6 separate regions of the Homo sapiens genome follow, and regions 1, 2, 3, 4 and 6 are each linked to region 5. The links are contacts of gene promoters, found by promoter capture Hi-C in human tissues and cell types (Jung and others, 2019). All regions are on one chromosome and are shown on one strand. Each heading gives the region's core, a stretch centred on a gene start or on the middle of the fragment in contact. The rest is flanking DNA. Distances are from core to core; before and after follow the strand shown. Region 1 overlaps PIGU (phosphatidylinositol glycan anchor biosynthesis class U). Region 2 overlaps PIGU (phosphatidylinositol glycan anchor biosynthesis class U). Region 3 overlaps TRPC4AP (transient receptor potential cation channel subfamily C member 4 associated protein). Region 4 overlaps MYH7B (myosin heavy chain 7B). Region 5 holds the start of NCOA6 (nuclear receptor coactivator 6). Region 6 overlaps TRPC4AP (transient receptor potential cation channel subfamily C member 4 associated protein).

Evidence for each region. Contacts are between HindIII fragments. The study calls those that stand out against the background at their distance.
Region 1: a fragment that was not itself captured here is called in contact with the fragment with the promoter of NCOA6 in region 5 in 1 of the 25 tissues and cell types used here (hippocampus).
Region 2: a contact is called between a fragment that was not itself captured here and the fragment with the promoter of NCOA6 in region 5, in 2 of the 25 tissues and cell types used here (IMR-90 fibroblasts and aorta).
Region 3: a fragment that was not itself captured here is called in contact with the fragment with the promoter of NCOA6 in region 5 in 2 of the 25 tissues and cell types used here (IMR-90 fibroblasts and lymphoblastoid cells).
Region 4: a fragment that was not itself captured here is called in contact with the fragment with the promoter of NCOA6 in region 5 in 2 of the 25 tissues and cell types used here (hippocampus and lymphoblastoid cells).
Region 6: a fragment that was not itself captured here is called in contact with the fragment with the promoter of NCOA6 in region 5 in 2 of the 25 tissues and cell types used here (pancreas and small bowel).

Annotation. Positions count from the first base shown.
Region 1 is chr20:34,640,638-34,643,929 of GRCh38, reverse strand. All of the region lies in intron 4 of PIGU (phosphatidylinositol glycan anchor biosynthesis class U), which reads left to right. Among named protein-coding and RNA genes, the nearest start is that of PIGU, 35 kb to the left of the region's middle. The HindIII fragment of the contact is 5,754 bases long and covers 1-3,292 here.
Region 2 is chr20:34,602,001-34,605,082 of GRCh38, reverse strand. The region is part of intron 7 of PIGU (phosphatidylinositol glycan anchor biosynthesis class U); the gene reads left to right. Among named protein-coding and RNA genes, the nearest start is that of MAP1LC3A, 45 kb to the right of the region's middle. The HindIII fragment of the contact is 4,519 bases long and covers 1-3,082 here.
Region 3 is chr20:35,061,485-35,064,609 of GRCh38, reverse strand. All of the region lies in intron 3 of TRPC4AP (transient receptor potential cation channel subfamily C member 4 associated protein), which reads left to right. Among named protein-coding and RNA genes, the nearest start is that of TRPC4AP, 30 kb to the left of the region's middle. The HindIII fragment of the contact is 7,597 bases long and covers 1-3,125 here.
Region 4 is chr20:34,992,783-34,996,014 of GRCh38, reverse strand. It overlaps MYH7B (myosin heavy chain 7B), which reads right to left. Exons shown (of 45, transcript NM_020884.7): 25 at 2,790-2,913; 26 at 2,545-2,681; 27 at 1,614-1,869; 28 at 437-679. Among named protein-coding and RNA genes, the nearest start is that of MIR499B, 3.9 kb to the right of the region's middle. The HindIII fragment of the contact is 8,137 bases long and covers 1-3,232 here.
Region 5 is chr20:34,824,384-34,827,556 of GRCh38, reverse strand. NCOA6 (nuclear receptor coactivator 6) reads left to right here and starts at 1,906. Exons shown (of 15, transcript NM_014071.5): 1 at 1,906-2,085. RefSeq lists silencers at 1,800-1,989, 2,000-2,439. The HindIII fragment of the contact is 14,831 bases long and covers 1-3,173 here.
Region 6 is chr20:35,040,797-35,044,160 of GRCh38, reverse strand. The region is part of intron 7 of TRPC4AP (transient receptor potential cation channel subfamily C member 4 associated protein); the gene reads left to right. Among named protein-coding and RNA genes, the nearest start is that of TRPC4AP, 50 kb to the left of the region's middle. The HindIII fragment of the contact is 7,224 bases long and covers 1-3,364 here.

The DNA.
Region 1 (3,292 bases), core at 45-2,544, 180 kb after region 5:
TATCCACATACCTGTGCAAGTTCAGACTTCTGGAGTAGTGCTGAATAACAGTTATATTACCTGTCGTTAATGAGGACCCTTAAAAATCTTCTAGTCTTTCACCAGTCTTTTTTTTTTTTTTTTTTTTTTGCATAGGAAGATAAATACAGCTTTTAAGTCACTGTTATGCCTATCTGAGGTAAAATTGGATTCTCAATGTCATTTCTGTCTCCCTGCAGAAAGTAATCTTAATTGGAAAATTTGACATGTATTAAATGCCTGATATAAACTTCAGTCTTAATCCATATGTAATAGCCAAGGAGAATTGCATAGTGGGACCATTCTTCTTTTCCTGGGGTCTGAGAAAGTTAACAGATTAACCATGTGTACTACCCATGTAGTTAAATGGCTACAACACTCCTTGATTGGCTGGGAGCCACTGAGAGAGAAGATTTAGGCTGGGGTGAAATAAGGCTGCATCTCATTGGCATTGTCTGTTTGTGGTTCATTTTAGCTTTTGTTACTAATGAAACCAGAAATAGCAGTGTGCTTTCTGTGTCACTGGTCATCAGTGACAGATGAAGCTGGTGAATTCTAGAATTTTAGACCCCAGAGAGATTTTAAAAAATATCTAGACTGAGGGTTCTTAACTTGGCCTTAATGGGCCTATAAAACTGTGGAAATGGTATGGAGAATTATATGTGTGTGTGTGTATATCATTGTTTCCAAGAGTTCATAGCTGTTATTGGTGTGTGGTCTTTGACTCTTCCTCTAAAATTAAGAACTATATTTTAGGGACTTAGTATCACCAAGACCAGGGAGTATATATCTTAAACTAATGGAGCATATCTTGAAAACTTTAGGGGCTGAGATGAAATGCTTTAACAGGATTCTCTTGAGGGCCGTAGATGAAATAATTGGGCATGGGTTTCATAAGCTGAGGAATTCAGATATAAATTAGCAGTGACTGTTCTCTTCTCCGAAATAGGTTGGGTAGGTAGACAGTCTCTACCAATAATACAAAAATTAGCCAAGTGTGATGGTGTGCACCTGTAATCCCACCTACTTGGGAGGCTGAGGCATAAGAATCAATTGAACCCAGGTGGTGGAGATTGGAGTGAGCCAAGATCGCGCCACTGTACTCCAGCCTGGGCAACAGAGTGAAACTTTTTGAAAGTGAATCTCCAAAAAAAAAAAAAAAAAAAAGACTAGGGAAAAAATAAACTTGTGTGTGTGCATATATATATATATATATATGAGATATGTGTGTGTGCATATATATATATATATATATATATGAGATATATATATGTGTGATATAGATATGAATAGCTGAGGCAGGATTGGTAGCTTTCATCTAAGACCACAATTACCCAGATCTTTATAACCAAAATGTAAAACTGAACTGTGTTTTAATGAAAGTTGATTAGATGCTAATGCCATATGTATTTTTTTTTTCCTGCTCAATTCTCATCAAAAAACCTCTCACACTCCCTAGTTAAAACAATTTTTTGCTTAAGACCAGCCTGGGCAATATAGTGGGACCCTGTCTCTACAAAAAATTCTTTAAAAAATTAGCCAGGAGTGGTGGTATGTGCCTGTAGGCCCAGCTACTCTGGAGACTGAGACAGGTGGATGGCTTGAGCATGGGAGGTCAAGGCTGCAGTGAGCTGTGGTCATGCCACTGCACTCCCGCCTGAGTGACAGAGTGAAACACTGTCTCAAAACAAAACAGTTTTTAATGGTAGGGTTAGTTTATGAGGAAGCAATGAAACTAGGTTTCAGTTAATTGCCTAACAAAGTCAGGCTTCAATGTCAACAGGAGAGATGCCTTTAATTTAGAGCACCAATAATTTGTTTGTTATTGCTGAGTTTATTTGGAAATATATAGAGATTTTTGGGTTTTTTTCTTTGCATGATTTAAAGAGGGAGAGAGAAAGCCAAACGGTGTTGTCAATACCCTGGTTTTTAGTGCACCAAGACATTCTGTTATTACCAAGACTGAAGTAAAATTTGGAATGTTTTTGTTTTTCCACTTTTAGAGTTCAGACTATTAGAACATTAGGTTTCTTCATCAGAATAGAAGTTTTATGTATGCTCTGTCAAAAATTAACTCATTTTAAATGGCAGATTTTGATGATACTAACATACTACTGTTGATTTAGGTAGGATAGCAGCATGTCTTCCTCTAAATCTTCTTCCCTTTGTCAGAAGGGTTCATATCGCATAGTCTGGGAAGTATTTAAATCTTGGTGGGATTTGAGTCTTTTTATCCTTGGTAATGAAACTATGTCTACACACAGATGCATCTGGGAGAACTATAGGGCAGAGAGGGGACTGCACCCCCACCCCCTCTCCAGCTGTTAGCCTGCGGACTGAATGCTGATGGTGACCAGTTGGTTATCATGACATTTTACATCTATCTCACTTGACAAAAACAATGTTAGTCTAGTCTGTCCTTTGCTGAGATGGTGCTTCTTGTTTGGAACTCAGAATTTATGTTAAGAGAGCTGCAGGTGGTTTGATAATGGATGATAAAAACCTGTGTCCCCTTAATATGATTAGAGGGTTGTAAATTTGGAGGCTAGGCTCCTGAATTTGGAATGTGCTGAGGCTAACAGTTGGAGAGGAGTAGGGACAGGGGTGGAGTGTTTCCTCTCCCCGACCCCACCATAGTTTTTGGGGATGCAAATGAACGTAGATGCAGCTTCAATGATTAGAAAAAGCCCTTTATAGCCGGGCGCTGTGGCTCACGCCTGTAATCCCAACACTTTGGGAGGCTGAGGCAGGCAGATCACGAGGTCAGGAGTTCAAGACCAGCCTGGTGAAACTCCAGCCTGGTCAGGAGTTTCAACGTGGTGAAAGCCCGTCTCTACTAAAAATATAAAAATTAGCCGGGCGCGGTGGTGGGCGCCTGTAATCCCAGCTACTTGGGAGGCTGAGGCAAGAGAATCACTTGAACCCGGGAGGCGGAGGTTGCATTGAGCTGAGATCGCAACACTGCACTCCATCCTGGTGACAGAGCAAGACTCTGTCTCCAAGAAAATAAAGCCCTTTATTTGAAGTAGGGGAATTATGTCCTGGCAAAACCTATCTTTCAAGGGACAAGGAAAGGGCTGTATAGAGGAGTGGGTGGAAGGAAAGGAAGACTCTACCCTGGAGATTTTTAAAAATTAAAACATTTTGATTTTTTAATATAACTTACATATGGAAAAGCATACCATCTGTCTACAAGCTGATTAGTGATCACAAAGGTAAGATATCCAGGTCACTACCCTTCACATCACTTTTAATCTCTCCTGTCATTGTTTTA
Region 2 (3,082 bases), core at 289-2,788, 220 kb after region 5:
TGAAGGAAAGCCGAGTGCACAGGACCGAGAAGCTGAAGCTGTAAGGCTTCGAGGGAGACCAGGCGAGGCTTACCGAGATGCTCATGGTGCAGTCTGGGAAGTTTCTAGTTCCCATCTTCCTTTTGCTTGGGATTCCTAAAGCCTTGGATTCCCTTGGATGGTTTGAGGCCTTTATTTTCTTTCAAAGACAGTAGCAGACACTAGGGGAAATTACCCCGTGAGTACTCTTTTGGTTTTGCTTTAATCCAGTCTGACCTTTTCTTGTCTTTGAACTGAAAACGTTAATCCTGTGATTTTTTTTTATCCTTTCTGGAGCTTGGGTCAGGTTATGTGATGGTAGCTTATACCAGAGGAGCCAAACTCAATCAGTTATTTCTTGATAACGGGTCCTTCCCCAAGCCTTCTCTGGGGCCATATTTAGAGTTTTCACACCTTATTTTTTCTTCCCCAGTCACTTTCTGTTATTTCTGCTATGTCCAGGTGTGTGCTAGGGCAGAGGTAGCAGTGCTGTTAGCTTTGTTTCTTTTTGGAATGGGTAAAAATGAAGGCAAGAGCTTGATCAAGCATTTTCAATAAAGTTTTCTACCAGTTTTGTTTCCTCTAATATATCTGTCATGCAAAATATATCTCCTGGATCTCTTCTTGTGATTCCAAGAACTTACATGTAAAAACATTGTTAGGTTAACTCCCTTTAAGAGTTTATTTGGATAACTGGCTTTTTCCCTTTCACATCGTGTCTGAGAAAGGAAATGGTTTCTGTACAGAAAATGCTTTTCTCCCTAGTGCTGTAGAGACTTGGGGAGAGGAAGATAATCTTAATGTAGCTGGGGTTTTTCTGAAGCAGTCTGAGAATTCTTAATTTCCCTAAATATTTTTTATATATTAGCAACAATGTGACTCCTGGAATATTGTAACTGCGAGTTAACATTTTCAGGTTGAGGGTGCACATAACCCTTGGATCACATCTGGCCCCACAGATGTGGTTCATTTGACCCTGGTGTTTGACTTTTTTGAAATTAGTAGTCAGCATTTTAAAAATTCATGTGGAAATTTTTTATTTCTGGCTCCTTTTGAGGAATTGTAAGATCTGTCCCCTTTAGGCAGAGCGTACCCTCTTCAGATTGCCACAGTCCCTGTTTCATTTCTCTCACCTTCACTTGTTTGTTACCTGCCTGGTCCCCTGTAGGGGTGTGGTGTGTGTGTGTGTGTGTGTGTGTGTGTCTGTCCACTAAAAGGTCTAGAAACAATGACCAACCCAGTATGAATGAACATTCTTAGTGCCCAAATTATGATCTTGAAATACCATTTACCCATTTAGAGAAACTGGGGTTTCTTAGGGAAATGGCTAATTCTAGGTTTTAGGGCAGGAAATGTATAGGATGATCCTAGAATGTTGTGATAACAGATAACATGAAAGTTTATCAAAGTCTACTGGAGTCATCTTGAAAGGACTTAGGATCTAACTTGAAGAGGCTCCCACTGACCAAAGAGGGATAATTTGAGTTTCAGTAAGGTAAGAATTGCAATAGATTAAAACTCATAAATATATTTAAATCCAGGCACTCATAATGTTACTAAAAAGGAAACCTACTTGGCTAAATTAGGAGAATTGATAAGAAATCAGTTCATTGTATTGAAAACTGGATAAAGGAAAAAAATAAGTATTTGTCCTGCCTTTCCTGTACCACTAGATAACCATATAGTAGGTGACAGAAATATATCTTTATAAAATTATTTCAACTTACAAATGAAAACAAAATGATAGGATAGCATCATTTTACAACCCCTTATGGTCTAGGTACTGAGCATCAATAACTGCTGACATCAGAAACAAAAACCAAGCCTCCTGACAAAAGAACATTACCCACCACCAAAGTTTGCCAAAAGGATAAAATCCAAAATTGATCAAGCCTCTGGATATAGCTGCAATTTGCAAGAAATACTGAAAACAAGGTACATAATTAGAAAATCCAGATTATGGGATGTTATATGGGTTAAATGTCCCAGATTCTGTAACATATGAATTGTAACAAGAAAAAAAAAAAAGATATGGGCAGGAGTAGGCTGGAGTGGAGGAATTATGAATTAAGAGACTTAAAAATTGTATCAAAAATTTTAAAAATAGGCAAGACCTAAACTATAGAAAGGGATGCACATGTAAGTGGAAAACCATAAAGAAATGCAAGGAAGTGATTATTACCAAAGCCAGGGTAGTGATTACTTTGGAGGGAGGAGGGGATTGTGGTTGGATCAGGGAACATGGAGGAACTTGGGGAATGCCTGGAAAGTTCTTTCTCTCGACCTTGGTAGTGGTTATAAGGATGTTCACCTTACAATCATTCATTAAGCTTTATATTCTATGTAATTTCCTGCATTTTGTGTTTGTAATAAAATGGTTTAAAAAATTGATAGAGTTTTTAGGGCATCATTCTTGTAACCCTTCTACTTACATACATACATACATTTTATTTTTTTGTTTGTTTTTTAAGATGGAGTCTTGCTGTGTCGCCCAGGCTGGAGTGCTGTGGCACAATCTCAGCTCACTGCAACCTCCACCTCCCAGGTTAAAGCGATTTTCCTGCCTCAGCCTCCCAAGTAGCTGGGATTACAGGCACCCACCACCACGCCTGGCTAACTTTTGTATTTTTAGTAGAGACAGGGATTCACTATGTTGGCCAGGCTGTTCTTGAACTCCTGACCTCAAGTCATCCGCCCACCTCGGCCTCCCAAAGTGCTAGGATTACAGATGTGAGCCACCGCACCCAGCCATACATATATTTTATTTTATTTCATTTCATTTTATGATGGAGTCTTGCTCTGTTGCCCAGGCTGGAGTGCACTGGCGCAGTCTCGGCTCACTGCAACCTCTGCCTCCCGGGTTCAAGCAATTCTCCCACCTGAGCCTCCCAAGTAGCTGGGATTACAGGCACCTACCACCACACCTGGCTAATTTTTGTATTTTTAATGGAGACGGGTTTTCACCATGTTGTCCAGGCTGGTCTTAAACTCCTGACCTCAGGTGATCTGCCCGCCTTGGCCTTCCAAAGTTTTGGGATTACAGGTGTGAGCCACCATACCCAGC
Region 3 (3,125 bases), core at 106-2,605, 240 kb before region 5:
AGATGTGCAGAAAGCTGAGCCCAGTGCTTCTCTAGAATTGACAATCTGTGGTGTAGTAGTTTAGGATTTTTATTTTTAATCTGCTGCTTTAAGCTAAAATAACACATCTCTCTTAATTCAGGATGTTGAATTATAGTGTCACATTCATGCCACGAGCAATCTCATGGCATGTGAATTACTTTCTAAAGATTTGTTGCTGGTTTGAGATGAGCAGAGGCTTTCTCAGACCCTCAAGCTGAACTGTCTAGTCTCAAAGATTTGCCTGCTGGCTTTTTAATTTAAAAAATGCTATGGAATCTTCCTTCTTCATTTGGCTTGAGGTGTCTTGGACATGCTGCCTAAGTATTGGCCTATAGCTAGAAGGGGCTAAGGAAGAATTTTTCTTTTTGTTCTGGGGTAGCTCCTAGCTTGATTTAAACAATAATAAAAAATACATACGTATATAGGGAATGTCTTTAAACATATGGGCTTAGTCATATTCTCAGCATATAGATAATTTTTAAATGCTTTAAGTGAAAATTGGACTTTTTTGGAAAACAAAGGTCCTAATTTTTCTCATTTTAAAAGGAAAAGGTGTTTGTCAAGGAAAATGTGAAAAACTGTCTTGGGACTTGTCACCAAAATTCAACCACTGTTAAGATTCGGGAGTATTCCTTTCTAACATTTATTTTTTTCTGTTTATATTAACCTAGAATTTGTTTAACAGAATTTTTTTTAATTACAGCTTTTAAAAATTGTTGGGATGATTTTAGAGATAGAGTTGCACTGTGTCACAGGCTGGAGTGCAGTGGTACGATCCTAGCTCACTGCAGCCTTGAACCCCTGGGCTCTAGTGATCCTCCTGCCTCAGTCTCCCGAGTAGCTGGGACTACAGGTTCATGCCATCACACGTGGCTAATTTTTTAATATTTGTTAGAGATATGGGGGTCTTGCTTTGTTCCTTAGGCAGTCTCCAACTCCTGGTCTCAAATGATCTTCCTGCCTCACCTTCTTCAGTAGCTGGGATTATAGGCACGAGCCACCCTGCCTCCCCAGCAATAACAGCTTTATTGAAATATAATTTACATAAAGTTAATTCTTGTAACCACCCATCAGTATTGTGCAGTGATAACCAGAACATTTTTATCACGCCAAAAAGAAATCTTGTACAAATTAGCAGTCACTCCCCATCTCCCCTTCTCCCCAGCTCTGGCAGCCGTTAATCTATTTTATGTCTGTATTATGCCTGTTGTGAAATATCCATAATGTCCATAATATGCCTGTTCTGTCAGTCCGTTCTCATGCTGCAATGAAGAAATACCTGAGACTGGGTAGTTTATAAAGGAAGGAGGTTTAATTGACTCACAGTTCCATGTGGCCTGGGAGGCCTCAGGAAACTCACAATCATGGCAGAAGGCAAAGGAGAAGCAGGCACCTTCTTCACAGGGCAGCAGGACAGAGTGAGTGCAAGCAGGGGAAATGCCAGACACTTATAAAATCATCAGATCTCATGAGACTCCCTCGTTATCACGAGAACAGCATGGGGGACCTGCCTCCATGATCCAGTCACCTCCACCTGGTCCCACCCTTGACACATGAGGATTATTACAATTGAAGGTGAGATTTGGGTGAGGGCACACAGCCAAACCATATCACCTGTTACGGATATTTCATATCAACAGAATCGTCCACTGTGTGGCTTTTTATGTCTAGCTTCTATAACTGAGCATGAGGTGTTTTATTGTTTTAAATAATAGCTTTATTGAGATATAATTCATGTCATACAAGTCACCCATTTAAAAGATATATTAAAAGATATAATTCAGTTTTTTAGTATAGTCAGAGTTATATACCACTGTCACCACAATTGATTTTAAAACATTTTCATCACTCCAAAAAAGAAACACCATATTCTTCAGTAGCCACTCCCCATTTCCTCCCAAGGCCTCCCTCCCACATCCTTAGGCAACCACTAATCTACTTTCTGTCTTTATAGATTTAATTATTCTGGACATTTCACATAAATGGAGTCATAACAATACGTGGTCTTTTGTGACTGGCTTCTTTTGCTTAACATAATGTTCTCAAGGTTAATCCGTGTCATAACGTGTATCAATACTCCATTCCTTTTTATTGTCAAGAAATATTCCACTGTATGGATAGACCACATCTTATTTATCCATTCATCAGTTGATGGACATTTGGGTTGTTCCCACTTTTGGCTATTATTAGTAATCTGCTATGATTAATAATGCTGCCATGAACATTGGCATATAAATTTTTAGGTGGACGTGTTTTCATTTTCTATTAGATTGTCTTACTAAAAAATTTCCCTTGGTATATACCTAGAAGTGGAGTTGCTGGTAACTCTGTTTAATTTTTAAGGATCTGCCAGACTGCTTTCTGAAGCAGCTGCACCATTTTACATATCTACCAGCAGTGTATGAAGGTTCTAATTTCTCCACATCTTTGCCAATAGTTACTATTTGTCTTTTTCATTATAACCATCGTAGTAGGTATGAAGAGGTATCTCATTGTGGTTTTGATTTGCATTTCCCTGATGACTAATGTTGATCATCTGTTTATTATTGGACTTTTGGAGAAATGTCTGTTCATCTGCTTTCTCCATTTCTTGATTGGGTTGTCTTTTTATTATTGAGTTGTATTAGTTTCTGGATACTAATTCCTTGTAATTTGCAAATATTTTCCCCCATTAAGTAGCTGTCTTTTCACTCTCTTGATGGTGTCCTTTGAAACACAAAGTCTTTAATTTTGATGAAGTTCATTTTATCTTTTGTTACTTGGGTATTGGTGTGCATCTAAGAAACCATTTCCTAATCCAAGGTCACAAAGATTTACCTATGTATTCTTCTGAGAATTTTATATTTTGTATCTTACATTTAGATCTTTGATCCATTTGCATTGACTTTGTTTATCATGTGAGGCAGGGGTCCAGTTTCATTCTTTTGCATGTGACTATCCAGTTGTCACAGCACCACTTATTGAAAAAACTACTCTTTCATCATTGAATTGTCTTGGCAACCTTGTCAAAAATCAACTGATCATAGACACGGGTTTATTTTTGTATTTACAGATCAAGATTGTTTTGGCTGTTATGCATCCCTTATATTTGCATGTGAATTTCA
Region 4 (3,232 bases), core at 612-3,111, 170 kb before region 5:
CCTACCCCTGCCTCACTTTCCCTCCTGTGTAATGGAGTCCCTCCTCCAGCACTGGGAACCACAGGGGCCATCACGAGGGCTCAAGGGCAGAAGTCACCTGCGGGATGCCGAGCTGGGGACATGGAGTTCCTGCCCTCAAGGGGCTTGCACTCCGGGATGGATGAGGATTGCCAGCATGTGCTAAACACCTACCGTGTGCAAGGCCTAGGAGCGTGTGCTCAGTAAAGGCCAATTACACACATCACCACCTACCCTAATGGGGTAAGTGCTGCTAACCCCACTTGACAGATAAAGAAACTGAGGCCCAGGAAAGGCAGTGACATGCCCAGGGCCAGAAAGCAGAGGCTTAGCAGAGCCGGGGTGGGACCTGCAGCCACCTGGCCCCAAAGCTGGCCCCTGGCTCAGGGCCCTTCCCCACAGCTGGCCCGGCCCACACCTTGTTCTCAGTGGCTTGCTTCTCCTTCTCAGCTTTGGCCAGTGTCAGCTCCAGGTCATCAATGTCCTTCTTGAGCTCCGTGCACTCGTCCTCCAGCTTGCGCCGGCGGGCGGCCAGGTCAGCGTTCACCTCCTCCTCATCCTCCAGCCGCTCACTCAGCTCCTTCACCTTCCCCTCCAGCTGCACCTTGGACTTGATCAGCAAGTGGCAGCGCTCCTCGGCATCTGCCAGGTTGTCCTGCTCCTGGAGGGCACACGGAACGGGGCCAGGTTGGGGGAGGGCCAGGTAAACCAGCAGAGAGACACCAGGCCAGGCCCTGGAGAGGAAACTGCCTCTGTAGCAAAGTTTGGCTGTGCTCTGAGAACTCAGGAATGTCTTGACTCGCTCTTGGGCATGGAAGGGCAATAGCGCAGAGGGACACACCAGAGCATTAAGAGGGGAAAGTTAGAAGTGCGGGGCGGCCCAGAGTGAGGCCCAAACAAGGGTTCTGAGAGGGAAGCCCGCTGCTCACTGCCCCGCTGTTGGGCTGAGGCCTTCCGAGGGGCAGGGTGAGCAGCAGCAGCCTCTGCACAGCCACGGACGGGCTCCTGGAGGCAGTCCCTGGAAGGGCTCAGGTATCCTTACCCCCCATTTCCTTACTGTCCAGCTGCGTCACAGTCTCCTGCACTAGCAGGTGAGTTTTGTGACCACAGGGCCATCTCTGTCTTCCCACCAACGTTCCTCCTGCACTAGCCTGAGCCTGGCACACAATTGATACACAAAGCCATGTGCCGAAGGCAGGAAAGCTTGCTCTGTGGACCTGGGGAGATTCCAGACCTTTGATCTGTGCTCTCTGGCTATCACCCTGTTACCTGCCACCTGGGTTCCCATGGCCCTTAACCAGAGAAGAGAGCATGGGTCTGTTTGGTTTCAGGGATTGCAGGGAGGGGAGAGCTGGGGAGCTGGGGTTCCTCTGCTTTAGCGGGAGGCCAAGGTGGCACGAGGGGAGAGTGCCAGGAAACGTGCCAGACGAGGCCTTGGGGTGGTGAGGCTGGGACATGGAGGCCTCATCTCATGGCATCTTTGGAACAGAGAGACATAAGGCCTGAGCCCCATGGGTCTCGCTGTACTATCCCTCAGAGCAGCCAGGGGTACTCGGGGCTGGGGACGCCCGGTCACAAGGGGAACCCTGACTCACAGCCTGCAGCTGCAGGGCCAGGTCATTCTTCTCCTGGGTGATGCTGACGTGCGTCTCCTCCAGTTCCTGGCGCTTGGCCTCGGCCGCAGCCAGCGCCCCTCGCAACCCCCGCAGCTCTGCCCGCAGGGCCGCCAGCTCCTCCTCAGCCTGCGCCGAGCGCAGCAGCGGCTTCATCTTGAAAAAGAGCTTCATCCATGACCAGTTCTTGACGGCATTGAAGGCACGGATGTTCCACTGGATGGTGAACAGCGCATCCCTAGGGAGGGGCAGCCAAGCTGTGAAGGTGGCTCAGTGCTGCCCGTCACAAATGGTGACACTCAGCACAGTTCACTTGTTTTGCCTTCCCAGCAGCCTCATGGAGTAGCTCCTAATAGCTCTGCTTTATAGGTGAGGGTGAGGGGAGGCCCACAGTCCCACAGGCCTGCCTCCAGTGAAGGGGCTCATGAGCCCCCCATGTCCTGGTGGCCTCTGCAATTCCCGGAAGACACCAGGGCTGTTAAGCCACGGGGCTCTGGAGTCAGCGGCCTGGGCTGACGTGCCAGCTAGCTCTGGATCTCTGACACGGGCACCCTTCTGCTGAGTGGAGGCCATCACAGCGCCTGTTTCTCAGGACCGTCAGCGCTTTAACCAGGATAATGCAGAGAAAGTATCTTGCCTGGGGCCCGGCCCGCAAGAGTCTTGGAAGACACTGGGTGCCATCGCTACCCCTCCGGGCCACACGCTGATGTCCTGAAATGGAGAGGCAAGTGCCGTACCCCGTTTTTTGAGGTGGGGAAATGGAGGCTGGGGGACACAGAACAGAACCTTGCCCCAACCAGCCACAGGGGCTGATCTGACTACAGGGCAGCATGTTAGGGTTGGGAGAGCCAGTGGGTCTGGGAGCTGAGAGGCAGGGGACACACCCTGTCCCCAGCCTCCTTCCCACACCCACCTGCCTCCCAGCAGGCGCTGGTACTCAAGGCGCATGAGGCGGCCACGGCTCCGCGCCTGCAGCAGCGTCAGCACCTTGGCCAGGCGCTGGTCACGGAGCTCTTCCAGGACGCCTAGAAGCCCAGCCTTGAAGAACACCTGGGGGCGGAGAGGTAGACAGCCAGGGTAACCCCCAACCATCCGCATGAACCCTGCCCAGTGTGACCGCCACAGCCATGGCCAGCCCTGATCCCACAGTGCCCCGACCTTGGTGTGGCCAAACTGGTACTGGGTGTGATCCAAGTCCAGCGAGCCCAGCAGTTTCTCTGTGGCCTTCCTGCTGTCCATGAAGGTGTCATCCGGGATGGCACTGGGGTTCAGGATACGGTACCTGGGAAAGGAGGGCAGAGCTGGTCAGGAGAGGGCTGGGTATGGGGCACAGGCCACTGAGAATGGGGAAGTCAGGGACTGAGGAGGCTCGTGTGGGTAGCAGGGGACTCGTTCCTGGGCCTCTCCGAGGCTGGTGCAGAGGTTCCAGCAGGGCACATGCCAAACAAGGGGGCCAGGGATGCGTCACCACACTGGGACACTAGGGACACTCCACTTAAAATCCCTGGGGGGTTGGCTGGGTGCGGTGGCTCACGCCCATAATCACAACACTTTGGGAAGCCAAGGCGGGTGGATTGCTTGAGCCCAGGAGTTCAAGACCA
Region 5 (3,173 bases), core at 657-3,156:
TGTTCACAACAGCCAAGATTTGGAAGCAACCTAAGTGTCCATCAACAGATGAATGGATAAATAAAATGTACATATACACAATGGAATACTATTCCGCCATTAAAAAAGAGTGAGATCGTGTCATTTGCAACAATATGGATGGAACTGGAGGTCATTATGTTATGTGAAAGAAGCCGGGCACAGAAAGACAAACTTCACATGTTCTCACTTATTTGTGGGAGCAAAAAATTAACTATTTTTTATTTTTTTTTGAGACGGAGTCTCACTCAGCCACCTAGGCTGGAGTGCAGTGGCGCGAGCTAGGCTCACCGCAACCACCATCTCCCAGGTTCAAGAGATTCTCCCGTCTCAGCCTCCTGAGTAGCTGGGATTACAGGCACCCGCCATCATGCCCACCTAGCTTTTGTATTTTAGTAGAGACAGGGTTTCACCATGTTGGCCAGGCTGGTCTTGAACTCCTGACCTCAGGTGATCCGCCCATCTTGGCCTCCCAAAGTGCTAGGATTACAGGCGTGAGCCACCATGCCGGGCCAGGAGCGAAAAATTAAAACAATTGAACTCATGGAGATAGAGAATAGAAGGAGGGTTACCAGAGGCTGGTAAGATTAATGGGGAGGTAGGTGGGAAGTGGGAATGATTAACGGGTACAAAAGAATAGTTAGAAAGAATAAGACCTAGTATTTGCTAGCACAAGAAGGTGACTACAGTAAAAAACAATTGGCCGGGCGCGGTGGCTCACGCCTATAATCCCAGCACTTTGAGGGGCAGAGGCGGGCGGATCATGAGGTCAGGAGTTCCTGACCAGCCCGGCCAATATGGTGAAACCCCATCTCTACTTAAAAAATATACAAAAATTAGCTGGGCGTGGTGGCATGCGCCTGTAGTACCAGCTACTCAGGAGGCTGAGGCAGGCGAATCCCTTGAACCAGGGAGGCGGAAGTTGCAGTGAGCTGAGATCGCGCCACTGCACTCCAGCCTGGGCGACGGAGTGAGACTCCGTCTCAAAAAAACAAAAATAAAACAAAAAACAAAAAAAAAACCACACACACACAAAATTTACTTGTACATTTTAAAATAACTAGAGTATAATTGGGTTATTTGTAACACAAAGGATAAATGCTTGAGTTGCTAGATACCCCATTTACCATGATGTGATTACACATCGCATGCCTGTATCAAAATCTCATGTACCCCATAAATATATTCACCTACTACGTACTTACGAAAATTTAAAAAATACATCAGTGTAGTGTGGGAAAAAACAGAAAATTTTTAAAAAAGAGTGAAAGCCAGATATGAATCCAGGCCTGTATGACAGACATGAAGTCCAGTGCTGAGGAGGCCTTTCTACGTTTGGGAAGAGGGGAGGGGCCACACTCGTTCGATCAATAATTCTATTTACTGAGCATTTTAGCTTGCTAGGGAGGTAATGATGGGAAAAAGAAGAGAGGGATTTAGAGGCAAATAATAATGAAAGCTTTTATCTATATCCCATTAAGCTTATTATTAGACAGTATGTGTCAGGCACGGTGACAAGTGCTTTCCAAGCCCACCTCCATTTGCTCTTCACAAGCACTATGATTTTCCCCATATTTCAGATGGGTAAACTGAGGCTTGGAGTTGCCATGTCCAAGGATACTCAGAGCGCTCGCAAAAGACTGTGCAATGTGTGCTTCCGAAGTGGGACTCACTGGCGAGAGAATAGCCCTGGAAAGCCGACAGAGACCCACGAGATCCCAGCACTAAGCACTCAGCACCGAAGGGAGCTGGCGCGCGCTCCACCTCGCGCTCCCGGGGACGTCTGGTCACGTGGGCAATGCCCCGCCCCTCGAGTCCGCCCCGCCCCCTCTCGCGCTCCCTCCCTCTCTCCCTCCCTCCCCCTCCCTCCCCGGCCCGGTCCGGCCCATCCCCCTCCCCGCCGGCTCCGTGAGGCCCTGCCGGGTCGGGCTGCGGGCGGCCGGGCGCGGGCGGCGGGACAGACGGGCGCACGCGAGGACTGACGGACGGACGCACCGAGGGCGGCGGGCACGCACGGCCCGGGCCGGCGCTCCAAGGCCCGCCCGGGAGGGCCGGGGCCGCGCTCAGGTGAGGGGACGGCGGCGCGGGCCCGTAAGGGGTGGGCCCGCCGGGCGTCCGCGGTCCTTGTCGGGCTGGCTTCGCGGGGAGGAGGCGCCGCCCGGGCCCGCGCGGAAAAATGGCGCCGGGCGACCGAGTGGCACGGTCTGAGAGCGGGCCCGGCCCGGAGCCGCCCCGCCCGCCGCGCTTGTGTCCCCGTCGCCATGTTGGGGAGCGGGCCCCAGGCCTGCGGGCGGGGGCGCTGGAGGGAGCGGCGGCCGGGCTGGGTGGGGAGGGTGCTGGGCGCGGGGGCCGGTGCACTGAGGGAGTGCAGGGCTGGCCGGGGTCTGCACGGGGTGGCGCTCCAGGCCTGGGGAACAGGCGGGAGCCGGTCGTGGGGTCGTGGTCAGGGTCGCGGAGAAGGAACACTGGGTCCGAAGGGAACCGGGATTGGGGTCTATGGGCTGAGAGGATGGCAGGACGTGGAACTGGGTTAGGCCTTAGGCGGTGTTAGAGCCCTAATGCAGGTAGGACCTGGGGATTGGGGTGGAGGCATGGGGGCCAAGCTCAGGCTGTCAGGGCTGGAGCAGTTCTTTGCTGGGAGGGAAGGAGGTGATTGATGAGGAATGAGGGCCCTTTGGGTACAGACGCTGGTTCAGATTGGGGCAGTCCTTGGGGTACTGGGGCTGAATTGCAAAGCTGTATAACTCCCAAGGCTCTGAAGACTTATGTCCCAAGCATCCTCCACCCCCTCTTGGGGGAAGCAACAGGAAAAAGGAGGTGTTTGATGAGAGAAAAGGGGGACAAAGGGAGACTGAGGTTTGGGTGCAGGAGCTGGCCAGCAAAAGAGGCACAGAGAGTGGAACTGGTTGGCAAGGAAGGAGAGAACCTTTATCAACTTAGGGAGTTGTGTGTGTCTTTAAAAGGAGGGACCTGGCTGTTTGGGGGCGGTGACCCAAGGTGTCTTCCCTGGAAGGGGACAGCCCACAGCTTAAGAGCAGAGTCACCTGGAGAGGTCATCAGAAAGGCGTTATTGAAGCCAGTAAAATGGTGAAGAAGAGTGAATGTATAAAAACTACAAAGGCCTGAGAGATCAAGTAAAGATTTCAAATCAGGTA
Region 6 (3,364 bases), core at 735-3,234, 220 kb before region 5:
CCTCATCTTCCCGAAGTGCTAGAATTACAGGTGTGAGCCACCACACCTAGCACCCCTTTTAAATATCTCTAGAGATGGATCCATGTGAAGGCTCCTAGTATGTAAATTTTGTGTATCTGTTCATTATTTTGGGAACTGAGTTCCATACCTTTCATTAGATTTGTTAATGGGCTCAGAACCACAAAAAAAGTTAAGAACTACTTTTTATCAGAATTACAAATGCATATACTTTTTGATCTACTAAGTCTCTCCTGGGCCTTCATTTTATAGATAATGATGTATAGACACTAATCTCCTCTTGTCTGCAGTTTCACTTTCTGTGGTTTCAGTTATCCGTGGTCAACTGCAATCCGAAAATATTAACTGAAAAATTCCAGAGAGAGACCACATTCGTATAACTCTTATTACAGCATCTTGTTACAATTGTTCTATTTTATCATTAGTTATTGTTAATCTCTTAGTGTACCTAATTTATAAATTAAGCTTTATCATAGTTATGTGTGTATATAAGAAAAAACATAGTATATATAGGGTTTGGTGCTATCTGCCATTTCAGGTATCCACTGTGAGGGTCTTGACTAAGGGAGGACTACTGTACAAGATTATTCACTGAGGCCAGGCACGGTGGCTTAACGCCTGTAATCCCAGCACTTTGGGAGGCCGAGGCAGGAGGATCACTTGAGGTTCAGAGTTTGAGACCAGCCTGGCCAACATGGCGAAACCCCATCTCTACTAAAAATACAAAAATTAGCTGGGTGTGGTGGTGCACGCCTGTAGTCCCAGTTACTCAGAAGGCTGAGGCAGGATAATTGCTTGAACCCAGGAGGCAGAGGTTGCTGTGAGCCCAGATTGCACCACTGCACTTCAGCCTGGGCGACATAATTAGACTCCGTCTCAAAAAAAAAAAAAAAAATTATTCATTGCAACATTATTTGTAATAACAAAAGACTAGAAACCCAGATGTTCATTAACACTGGACTGCTTAGTGTATTCAATATTTATATAATGGAAAATTGTGTAGCTTTGAAAAAATGAAGATCTCTATGTACTGCTATAGAAAAATCTCCAAGATATATTAATGATAAAGAGGAAAATACAGAACAGTGTGTATATGGTATAGTTTTTGTATTAAGTCAGGGGGAGAATAAGACCATACGTTTGCCCACATATATGGTATGCCTAAAGAAACAAAGGGTACACAAGAAACATAAAGTGGTTATTAATAGGAAGTAGCTGGTAAGGGAAGGTAGTAGCAGTGGGAGTGGGACTCCTTACTGTATACTTTCATATATTGTTTGATTTTAGAACCGTGTAAATATATTACTTAAAAACAAAACACTATTCTAACCAATCTAGCCCACCTATTTCTGTTCAGTAGCAAAAGAACTGTGTTCTATCTAAAATGTTGTTGCCTGCACAGATTTTGGAGAAACTGGCATAGATGTATTTTGGTCATAAGAGTGTAGATAATTCATATTTGAACTGAAACTTGTGTCTTAAAAGCTAGTTTTTCAATGTTAACAGGCTGGAAATATTGTTAATACAAAAACCTATCACTGTGTACCTTATGGTACACCAAATAAACAAGGTAAAATTATACAAATGTATCATTAAAAAGCAGCAGTAGAAAACCATGACCATGCAGAGGTAGCCCTAATCATGCTCTGAAAACAGTTCTTTGTTTCTAAAGTCCAGTTGTGTGCATTCCCCAGGCTGGCTCTGCAGAGTTATCAAGTGCTTCAGAGCAGCCTCCTCTCCTGAGGCTGAATATGAACCTGCCATTCACTCTGTTATTGTCTAGTTTTAGTTAGGAACATGAGGTGATCATAACTATACTTTGTAGGTTATTAGGGAATATAATTTTACATGTTGTAGTCATATGTAAAGGTAGAAGTTTGTGGACTCCAACCCCAGTTTATTCTCTCTCTAGATTTGCTTTTCCTCCTGTGTCACTAGATACAAGGTCTTCCTTGGTCTGTGTACGGTTTTCTTCCCACTCCTTTATGATTTTGGGGGAGTTCTCATTTTAGGAAATTTACATTTTTAAAAAATATGTGACTTTCCAACATGGCACATATATACATATGTAACAAACCTGCACGTTGTGCACATGTACCCTAGAACTTAAAGTATAATTTTAAAAAAAGTGACTTTCATTATAACTAAATTATACCTCAGAGCTGGTGTACACACCTCCATATACATTGACAAAAGGTAGTATTTGCTAAGCTCCTGGTATGTGGCAAACGCTGGGTAACTGCTTTACCTAGAAGTGATTTTATTTAATCCTTCAAGTGCCCTGTGGAATAGAGATTAGTATCCCCATTGCACATGTGAGGAAACTGAGGGCTAGAAAGGTTCTGTATTGGATGCCTGTGTATGCCGAGGCACTAAGTAACTTTCATCTTTTAGTTTCCCATTTAAGGAATCTATTCTGGCAGATGATTTTGATCCTGTTAGTATTGATTGCTTTCAGATGCCTATTTGTAAACTGACTTAAGTAAAACCAGCATTACCCATTATTCTTGAGGAATGAACTGTTCTGGTCAGCTGGGCTTTTTTGATTAACTGAGAACGGAAAGCCCAGTTTTTGTTTTTGTTTTTTTATTTGGGAGTTTTTTCTTAAAGTCTCTATAAAATAATCTAGATTCACTTTCATATCTGTGTGACTAGCCTAGTAGACAGTCTATGTGTGATTCTGCTTGTAGCTTTTGGGATAAAGCCTAAAAGTTGTAGTTCCACACATGAGGTTGTGCAGGATCTGACCCTTCCCAACCCTGACCATAATTCCTACTCCATTCCCTTACCCGCACGATTTTCTCCATTCAAATGCCCTGGGAAGGCCAAGCTGGTGGACATAATTAAATCACGAGTGGATGAGGAAAGTCTTAGTCCTCTGAATGTTATCATTCTTGAATTGCGCTCCAGTAGTGAATGCCTTTATCTCAGGTGTGTGTATCAGTCAGCTTGAGCTGCCATAACAAGGTACCGTAGACTAGGTGGCTTAACTAACAGACATTTATTTTTCTCACAGTTCTGGAGGCTAGAAGTCCAAGATCAAGGTGCTGTCAGGATTGGTTCCTGGTTGAGGCCTTTCTTCCTGGCTTGTAGAAGGCCACCTTTTTATTGTATCCACATATGAATTTTCCTCTCTGTCATTGAGGAGAGACGGAGATCTCTGGTGTCTCTTCCTCTTCTTAGAAGGACACCAGTCCTCTCGGTTTAGGGCCCCACACTTTGTAACCTCATTTAACCTTAATTACTTCCCTGTATTAGGCAGCAGTCTCCAGAGAGACAGAAGCAGTAGGATTTATGAGGTGGGATTTGTTAGGGGAATTGGCTCACACGATCACAGGCGGAGGAG